3 separate regions of the Homo sapiens genome follow, and all the other regions are linked to region 2. Evidence: promoter capture Hi-C in 16 types of primary human blood cells and fetal thymus (Javierre and others, 2016). All regions are on one chromosome and are shown on one strand. The core of a region is centred on a gene start or on the middle of the fragment in contact, and the rest is flanking DNA. Distances in the headings are between cores, read along the strand shown. Region 1 overlaps ELK3 (ETS transcription factor ELK3). Region 2 holds the start of HAL (histidine ammonia-lyase). Region 3 overlaps SNRPF-DT (SNRPF divergent transcript).

Region 1 (3,234 bases), core at 48-2,547, 220 kb after region 2:
AAAAGTCACTGACAAACCAATTGAGTTACTTCTAATTTAGCCAGAGACAGCATAGTTCCAGAAGGAAAGAGGGGTGTTCCTACACACAGTAAATTGCATATGTTGTTATTTCAGTGGTTGTCAGTGATTTCCTCTGAAAAATCTCTCTTTTTTTTTGTTTTGTTTTTGAGACAGGTTCATGCTCTGTTGCCCAGGCTGGGGTGCAGTGATGTGATCACAGCTCACTGCAGCCTCAAACTCCTGGGCTTAAGTGATCCTCCTGCCTCAGCTCCCCAAGTAGCTGGGACTACAGGTATGTGTCACCACATCCAGCTAACTTTTGTGTTTTTTGTGGGGATGGGGGTCTCGTGTTGCCCAGGCTGGTCTTGAACTCCTAGGCACAAACTGTCCTCCCTCCTCGGTCTCCCAAAGTGCTGGGATTACAGACATGTAATCCGTTCATTAAAAACCCAGTAATCCTTGCATTGTGCTAGATATTACATTGTGCTAGATATAACATGTACAGGCATGTAATCCCAGCAACCTTTCTCTTTCCCAAGATGGAAGAGTTATTTAAAAAACATTGCAGACTGGGCCAGACACGGTGGCTCACGCTTATAATCCCAGCACTTTGGGAGGCCGAGGTGGGTGGATCACCTGAGGTCAGGAGTTTGAGACCACCCTGGCGAACATGCTGAAACCCTGTCTCTACTAAAAATACAAAAATGAGCCGGAGGCAGTGGTGTGCGCCTGTAGTCCCAGCTACTCGGGAGGCTGAGGCACGAGAATCACTTGAACCTGGGAGGCGGAGCTTGCAGTGAACCGAGATCACACCACTGTGCTCCAGCCTGGGCGACAGAGCAAGACTCTGTCTCAAAAAACAAAACAAAACAAACAAACAAAAAAAAAAACAGCAAAAACCATTGCAGACTGTAAAGAGTAAGTAAATAGGTGAGCAATACCTACTTTTGTTTACCTTTTTTAAAATGAACAATTTGTAGATATTCACAGAATGCAAATACTTGTTAATAAATGAAAAGCTTGGGAGACATGAAGTTGGCCTCATGCCTTTTTTATACACAGTGATAATGATCAAAATAATTTAAATGTCCTTTGAAAATAAATTTAATAGTCTTCCAACTCACAGAAATAATAAAAAACTTCAGAACTTGTATAAGTTTTTTTTTCAAATATTATCCTTATTTACTTAATACCTTACACTTACTCTGTGCTGAGTTATTGCAGATCCCTAATAATATAAAATGTTGTCTTCCAGTTCTTTGACTGAGGTACAGGGTTCATTTTCTATAATGAAATGGCTACTACCCTTTGTCTTAGACAATGATAGTATCATGACATGGAAATGCATAGCAGATACTGGCAGAGGAGTTGAACTCAGCAGAATTTTCAGTAAGAAGTGTTCAAATCCATCTTCATTTCTCTAACCATGCAAAATTTAACAAACGAAAAAAGACATGGGTACCTCATGAGCACCTATTTTGTTTATTCCTTACCCAGAAGTTTTTCTCCTTTTCTTGGGCTCTCATTGCCTTTTTTTTTTTTTTAAGTTGCCTCGTTTCTTATTTCCCACCACATAGAAGCTTAAGAAAATCAAAGCTAATTCTGCCCCCTCAACTCCCACCTCAGTAAAAATGAAACAAGGAACATGCAAAGGGAAGTGCTAGGTTGCCATCAGTAGAAAGAAGAACAAATAAGTGGGCATTTCGACTTCTAAGAATGGAGGCAAAAACCTCATACTTTGCATAAGGGGTCTGTGCGGCCCTTGCTCACATTAAGACGTCGGGCGCCACCTTGTGGCCGACAGGAAGGAGGTCAGCTTCCAAGAAGAGGCCAGTAGCTTTTCGGTGACAGAGGCAGGAGGCAGCTGGGACACCTGAAGCTGGGATCGTGTCATGTGACCTGACAGCTCTCACGTAGGCGGAGGCGGGCACAGCGTAATGAGAATGATCAATATTTCTGTCAATAGCATCTTTCTTTTTGAGGCTCCGTCGGATTAAAGAATGAATCAAAGTTAAATAAAAACATGGGAAAGACTAAAGAGGGACATAAAACCTTTTTTTTTTTTTTTTTTTTTAAAGAGAGATGGTCTCGCTCTGTCACCCAGGCTGGAGTGCAGTGGTGCAATCACAGCTCACTGCAGCCTCTACTTCCCAGGCTTAGGCGATCCTCTCACCCCAGCCTCTTGAGTAGCTGGGTGGACAGGCGCGGACCACCAGACACAGCTAATTTTTGTATTTTTTGTAGAGATGGGGTCTTACTCTTGCCCAGGCTGGTCTCGAATTCCTGGGCTCAAGCGATCCACCCACCTCGGCCTCCCAAAGTGCCAGGATTACAGGCGTGAGCTATCACGCCTAGCCTCAAAACTGTTTTCATAACTGCATTCTTTAAGTGCAAAAAGCTGAAAACAGAATAAGGGCAGAAAATAATCACTCAGAGTCTGCAAAAATGTCCCTCCCCTCTGTGCCAGAGGTCAAGCGTTTTACTCTCGGCCTCTCTACTCTGTGTCTTTTGCCCTGACCAGCCCGTGAATGCCCTCCTGTAGGGCCCCATCTGCAGCGGCTATGAGCGGTGTTGTCATCATTGTCCCTTGGCTTGTCATTTAGAACATCTTTCTTTCTTCGCTATCTGACCCAACAGCTCTCATGTACTTGACTCTCCTTCCTGCTCCAGAGAAACCACATAGATGGGAGCCGAATGTACCCCAGGGAAGGAGAGAGCCCCAGGGACCCTCTTTGCTGAGGTCACACAGCTTGGAGGCCTCAGGGTCAGCATTTAAACCAGTGTTTGTTAAGCTGGAGTCGGAGAATCAGTGCCCTAGCATCTGAGTTTTCTGCAAGCATTTACGATTTTTTGTGCTTTCATATTTGATGATAGACTACAAAACAGAAGCATACTCCAAGTCACCTTATAAACCACAGTCGCCATGTGGCTGAAGAGTCTCCCTGGATTTCAGTGCCTGTGTGGGGCTCATTGCCTAATGGACAAAGAGCCCAGGTGGGTGCTGTAGCTACACAATGCCTTCTAGCCTGGTGAAGGCCATGTGACTCCACAGCAAGCTCTGTGAGGAGGATTCCCTGTAGCTTAAAAGGTAATTGTAGTTAACATTTAAATAGCACTTACTTTGCCCCAGGTGTAGTTTAAGTGCATTATTAGTAACTTCTGTAACTCTTACAACAACCCTGTATGATATGATACTTTTATCATATCAGTCCCATTTTACCTATGAGGATACTG
Region 2 (3,248 bases), core at 493-2,992:
CTGGTTTCAAACTGATGACCTCAAGTGAACTGCCCACCTCGGCCACCCAAAGTGCTGGGACTACAGACATGAGTCACTGCTCCCGGCCAGCCCTGTTCTAATTGACAGTGTTTTCTCAGAAGTTTTCCTGGCTTTCCTCCCTCTTAAATAAGGGGCCTTAATTTTCTGAAGAAAAAGAAAGTGGTTTGAAGCTTACCTTTTCAGGCTCCCGGTACTTGCTGTATCTGTATCCAGGTAAAGGAACATATAGGGTGGTGTGGAAAAACCCCCAGCCCCACCATCTGCAGGAGCCACCCCCAGAGCAGACCAAAGAGCCTGTGGGAAAGGATACAGATAAACTCCTTCTGGTTGAGATGGAATGAAGTCAGGAGACATGGCATCACCCTCTATAACTAAAACAATGCACGGGAGACTCGTTACAGATCACATTGTACAGCCATGTTCCCCCTGTTAAACCAAGGAACGGCCCATCATTGGCCCATGAATTCTATAGAAATGGCTGCTTTAAAACTGCTTCAGATGGTTTCATGTGGTCTTAGCATCTTTATGTAGGAGGAGAGCAAAAAGCAGAAAGGTAGGTGTCAGGGCAGAGACCAGGGGTTTAGATGAAAGTTCAAGACAGAATTCCACTTCCATCCCCATTCCCAGCTTTATTTTCTTCAAAATCTGAACTGATGCTATGCTGCCGGCCTCCAGTCTGGGGGTGGGGGTGGATTCTTTCGAAAGGCAAAATAACCTCAAAATGATTCAGTCACTGCAAAGGGATTCAGACCTGCAGCCTTGAGTACCAGTCTAGTCTTTGTTACTTACTAGCTGCTGGAGTCTGGGTAAGTTACCTCCTCTCTGATTTCTCCTCCATCAGAGGTGGAGGAGAATCCTACCCATCTCACAGGGTTGTGTGAGGACTTAAGATCCCCAGAGGCGTGGCATGTGCCTGCACAGGGCCAGCCTCGGCAAGCCTGACCTCTGCTCATCATTTTCCCTGAGGTGGGGGTTCAATGCTGCAAAGACTAAGCCAGGCCAAACCGCACCCGTTCGCGGCCCTCTCCTGCAGCCACTCACCCACTTCCACGAACTCGTTGTTCTCTAGGGCCACCTCGAGCCGGTCCTCGTTGTCCAGCAGGCCCAGGCCCTTGCACCGGCGCACAAGGAAGTGCGCGTCATCCACGGAGGTGAAGCCACCATTGTCGGGCTTATTCTTGATATAGCGCCTCACGGCCTCCCGGCCCAGCCAGCCCACAGTGAGCTGCGCGTCCTGGCAGGGCACTGCCAGCCATTCCCCACGTACGTGCACCGTGTATCTGGGCATGGCTCCGCTGCAGCCTGAGGTCCTCAGCTGGTCACAGGAGGGGAGAGCTTTATGCAGGAGTGGCTACCGGGGTGTGGTCAGCTGGAAGGATGAGAATAGACTTTCAAACCACTCCCCCTCCTTCACCTTTACTCATTCATGCATTGGACAAATATTTATTGAGGTACCTGCTGTCCCTTTGGTTTTTGTAGCCGAGCAGGGGCAGGAGCAGGGGATGCAGACGGGTGAGCCTCCTGTCCACTTTCCATCCAGACCTGCTGCCAGAAAGGCCTGGGGTCTCCCACCCTGGGAGGTGCTGTTCTTGTCCCTGATGGCACCTACCTGCTGCTGGCCCCCTTTCTTCAGGGTCCCCAATTTCTCTCTCTTCCCTCGTTTCTGTCTGTGTTCTCTGCCATTAAGGGCAGCTTATAAACACCATGTTCCTGTCTTTATCTGAGATTACTCAACTGTAAAACGTGTTCTGTGGGCCAACTGTGACACTGGGAGTGTGGCAATCGTCACTCATTTGTTTATTCCACAAACATGTATTGAGCAACTACTTCCTGTCACCAGTAAGGTTTTCTGAAGCTTTCTTTCCACCAGGGAAGACTGCAAAGGCCAGAGATCATTTTCACAACTAAAGGTCGTCATCTGGGCAAATGAACCACTCTGACTTGGAGATTAGGGGCTCAGACAGCCGTGGATGAGAGTCCAGCTCTACTACTTATTAGCCTTGATTAGGTGAGTATTACCCTGTATTTCCTTATCAGAAGGCCTAGGGGCTAACTGCCTCCTTCCAGTATGTGCAGGATTTACCTGTGATCAAATCCTGGCTCTGCCATTTGCTAAGTGTATGACTTGTGGGCAAGTGATTTGACTTCTCTGGGCCTCAGTTGCCTCATCTGTAAAATGAAGATAATGGTAATGATGATAGTATATATGTCAAAGGGCTATTGGGAGGATGAAGTCAGTTCATATATGTAAAGCCCTCAACACAACACCTGGCATAGTGGAAATATTATAGAAGTGTCTGTGATTACTAGTATCTGGACACCAATACTCCATGTAACTATAATGCTTTATAAATGTTCTGTATGAATCATAAAGCTATAAAGTTCCATAAATGCTCTTTCATCTTGGCACATGGATATCCCTCACCCAATTAAGCTTCTTCACCACAGATAACTGCTCCCTGCACCCGCCTTATTACCATTGGTATTAAGGAACTCTGGATAGCATGATTACGGCATCAAAGATATGCAGATGCTATTTTGACTAAGCAGCACTTTCATCGTAAGCCAATTTTTAGAGATTTGATTATTGCACTAGAAAAATCCTGAAAAGTCTGTTTCCACTAAATCAGACTTCTGTTGGGAAGAGAGACATGGTTGCTCAAGAAAAACACCTATACTCATACCCAGAGTCCCTCTCATCTGCTGACAGCTTCCCAGGAAGCGTACAAATAGCTACCCTTCCTTGAGCCTTATTGAAACTTGCTCTTCAGATACCCACACCATGACTGCACCCTGGAATTTGTCATGACCTGAATTTGACACACTTAAGAAATCACCCTGGAATCTGTCACGACCTGAATTTGACACACTTAAGAAATCTGAAATTCCAATATTCCACCTTCTGACCACAACCTTCCAGCTGCCCTTTTACTCTAGTCACTGCCAGCCTTGGACCTGACCTCCAGTCAGTCTCTTCATCCCTCCACTTCCCACCAGCATCCTCACTTACTATCCTAGGAAGCTGGTCCCTAGTCGCTCACTGGACCACTCTTTCTTAAGCACTCTGAGATTCCTTTGCATCCCTAAACTTATGTCTACACTTGGAATAACACCCATCCCCTTAGTCATCACAAAAAACAGCCATCTCTTGGAAGGATTGCTTAAGCCTAGGCAGTCAATGCTGCAATGAGTTATGATTATACCACTGTACTCCAGCCTGGGTGAGA
Region 3 (3,283 bases), core at 703-3,202, 140 kb before region 2:
ACTCTGGGAGGCCGAGGCAGGCAGATCACTTGGGGTCGGGAGTTCAAGACCAGCCTGGCCAACATGGTGAAACCCCGTCTGTACTAAAAATACAAAAATTAGCTGGGTGTAGTGGCATGTGCCTATAATCCCAGCTACTCAGGAGGCTGAACCAGGAGAATCGCTTGAACCCAGGAGACGGAGGTTAGCAGTGAGCCGAGGCTGCACCACTGCACTCCAAACTGGGTGACAGGGCGAGACTCCATCCCAAAACAAACAAACAAATAAATGAACTTGCAAAAATGTTTTGGAATTATATAGAGGTGGTGGTTGCAATAACATTGTGAATGTACTATATGCCACTCAATTGTATACTTTGAAATGGTTAATATGTGAATTTCATAATTAAAAGTTTTTAAAAAATGCATAGTGAAACATCTCATCATTGTCTGCCCTCAGTGTAGTTCCCACTACACCCATAGGCAACCCGTGTTCTTAGTATCTTAGGAGCCCTCCAGTATACTTATGCACATACACAGAAATGGATAGCTTGTTATCCCCTTCTTTCTCTTTTTATACAGAGGCAGCATATTTTGCAAATTATTCGGTGCCTTGTCTTTCTCAGCAATTTATCATGGAGATCTTTCTGTGGCCTTGACACTCTTGAACATTGCAGGCCACTTTGTTCCTCAATGTGGTTTGTCTGATATTTCCTGATTACTAGATTCAGGTTATGTGGCTTTGGTAAGAATATCACAGAATGCATCTTTTCTTTGCATCTTATCATGTGGCACCTGATTTTGATTTTCCAGTTGCTAACGATAGTTGTTTGATCACTGGATTGTAATAAGATGGTGTCTACCAGTTACTATAGTGAAGAAGACTGAAAATAGCCAATGTTCGAAGGGATCCTGATTCCTTTAGTGGGAAGCAGTTTCTAGAAACTAAAACCTGAGCATTAAGTATGCTCATTATTATAGGTTGATTCCTTTGATTAGTGCCCTTGTAACAAATTTCCCTTCCTGCCATTGTCCCCTCCCCTGCATTTCTTCTTCATTCCATTCAGGTTCTGACACCGTGTGCCAGGTCATTCTGCATGGACATCCTCCTTGCTTCCTTTAGGCTCTGACACTCCACAGCAGGCCACCCTCTTCCCCGCAGTGTGGACACCCTCTTAACCCCACTCAGGCTCCAACACTCCCTGTCAGGCCACCCTCTGGGGATGCTTCATCCTACTTGGGCTCCAATGGCTGGTGCTGGGCTGCCCCTCGCCATGCGTGATCACCATCCTCACCTCCTCAGGCACCAACTTCCCATGTTTGCCTGCCCTCCTATGTAGATACCTTCCTCCTCCTGCTCAGGCTCTGACACCCCACACTGGCTGCTCTCTTATGTGGATGTTCTCCTCACTCCATTCAGACCACTGTGACTACCCCCATACCCCAGCACAGGTGCATACTTTGCTTACTCCATCTAATGGTTTTAAAACCACATCTTCAGGAAGGATAGAGGAACAACCTTGTACTAACTCCTAACATCCACTACCACACTGGGAGAAAGAAACAATTATCCCTATGTCATGGGAAAATAAGCTTAGTGAGGGCGGGTAACTTACACAAGTTCCCACTAGTAAGTGTTGGGGGCAGGATTCAAACTCAGATTCGAACCTGGCCTCTAGAACCAGCATTATCAACCATTATGTTGTCAATCATATAAAACAATCATATAATGTGCTATTAAATATACTGTTTTTATTATCTTCTGCTGCCGTATATACTGCCTTCTTTTTTTGAGACAGAGTCCCATTCTGTCGCCCAGGCTGGAGTGCAGTGGTGCCATCTCGGCTGACTGCAGCCTCTGCCTCCTGCGTTCAAGTGATCCTTGTGTCTCAGCCTCCTGAGTAGCTGGGCTTACAGGCATGCACTACCATGCTTGGTTAATTTTTGTACTTTTAGTAGAGACGAGGTTTAGTAGAGATGGGGTTTCACCATGTTGGCCAGGCTGGTCTTGAAATCCTGGCCTCAAGTGATCCACCCACCTCGGCCTCCCAAAGTGCTGGGATTACAGGCATGCACCACACTGCCTGGCCTATACTGCTTTTTTAATATAACTCAATATATATGAACAAATTGTATGCATCCACTCATTTTCTGTCTCATCTGTTTCCCAGGTCCTTGATTGCTAGCTCCCTCCAGCTCCCTCTGCACTTAATGGCTAATAAATGTGGTTTTGGGTCTAGACTAATCTCTTATATCTTGAGTTATTAGGCAAACTAATTTTCTGGTCCATAAAGGGATTGGTCTCCCCATAAATATATAAGGTGCTACTTTTACATTGGTTTTACATTACTTAAACCAAGCTTTTGGGGATAATTAGATTTTGATTGAATATAAATGTAGGAGAACAAATATTTATCGAACTGACCAGATATTGTACTGCGTTGCATATATTATCTCATTTAATGTTCTTCATTTAATGTTAACCCTGTGAGAGTCAGGAGAGAACCCCAACTTCAGGTAGCAAGGAGTAAACCTGCTGTCTCTCCACAGGTGCTGAAAGGAGACAATGAGACTATGTGGATCAGAACAAGACAGTTTACTACACACAGCAAACAGAAGCATTGTCTTAGCCATGTCAGCCTCCCTTGCCCCCCAGGTCCCAAGAGGTGAAGTGATAGACCCAGACAGATAGATGTGCACAGTGGATTCCAGCACAGCTGAAGAATCAAAGCCAACAGCCCAGAACTTTTTGAGCAAGCAGCAGTTTAGCAAACAGCAAACAAGTAGTCCAATATTAGTTATTAGCATTAGTTATTGTAGGTCACATTGACCTACTCACGTGCCTACGTACCTCGCTACAGAAACTATTCAGTATCAGGAGGTGGATAAACACCACAAATATTGTATCCTAATAGCAGCCTTATAAGATGGGTATTGAACTGGGCATGGTGGTATACACCCATAATCCCAGCCACTTGGGAGACTGAGACAGGAGGATTGCTTGAGCCCAGGAGTTTGAGACCAGCCTGGGCAACATAGTTACAGCCCACCTCACTAAAAAAAAATTTTTTTAAGATAGGTACTATCATGATCATCCTCTTTATTGATGAGGAGATTGAAGCAGAGATAAGCTGCACATGGCAGAGTCAGGATTTGAACTCAGACAGTATTGGCTCCTACCCACAATACCAGGTTTCCTTTGTTGGGGCTCAGAAAATGATACCCCGAAGCATACTGCTACTTTGCACTAAAGCAGCAGCCTCAGAACCAAGGTCTGACCTTCTCTCTGACCTTCTCCCACCCCC

What was found. Contacts are between HindIII fragments. The CHiCAGO score rates a contact against its expected background, and 5 or more counts as called.
Region 1: a fragment that was not itself captured here is called in contact with the fragment with the promoter of HAL in region 2 in 2 of 17 cell types (monocytes and M0 macrophages); the score reaches 8.2 in monocytes.
Region 3: a fragment that was not itself captured here is called in contact with the fragment with the promoter of HAL in region 2 in 1 of 17 cell types (endothelial precursors); the score reaches 5.1 in endothelial precursors.

What each region holds. Positions count from the first base shown.
Region 1 is chr12:96,213,577-96,216,810 of GRCh38, forward strand. All of the region lies in intron 1 of ELK3 (ETS transcription factor ELK3), which reads left to right. Among named protein-coding and RNA genes, the nearest start is that of ELK3, 21 kb to the left of the region's middle. The HindIII fragment of the contact is 561 bases long and covers 1,018-1,578 here.
Region 2 is chr12:95,994,602-95,997,849 of GRCh38, forward strand. It overlaps HAL (histidine ammonia-lyase), which reads right to left and starts at 1,743. Exons shown (of 21, transcript NM_002108.4): 1 at 1,477-1,743; 2 at 1,063-1,390; 3 at 332-392; 4 at 197-224. The coding sequence starts at 1,309. It overlaps LOC102723340 (a long non-coding RNA gene), which reads left to right and starts at 1,881. Exons shown (of 4, transcript XR_945237.4): 1 at 1,881-2,029. RefSeq lists an enhancer at 1,956-2,125. The HindIII fragment of the contact is 1,685 bases long and covers 190-1,874 here.
Region 3 is chr12:95,851,120-95,854,402 of GRCh38, forward strand. The region is part of intron 1 of SNRPF-DT (SNRPF divergent transcript); the gene reads right to left. Among named protein-coding and RNA genes, the nearest start is that of SNRPF-DT, 6.1 kb to the right of the region's middle. RefSeq lists an enhancer at 1-39. The HindIII fragment of the contact is 767 bases long and covers 1,570-2,336 here.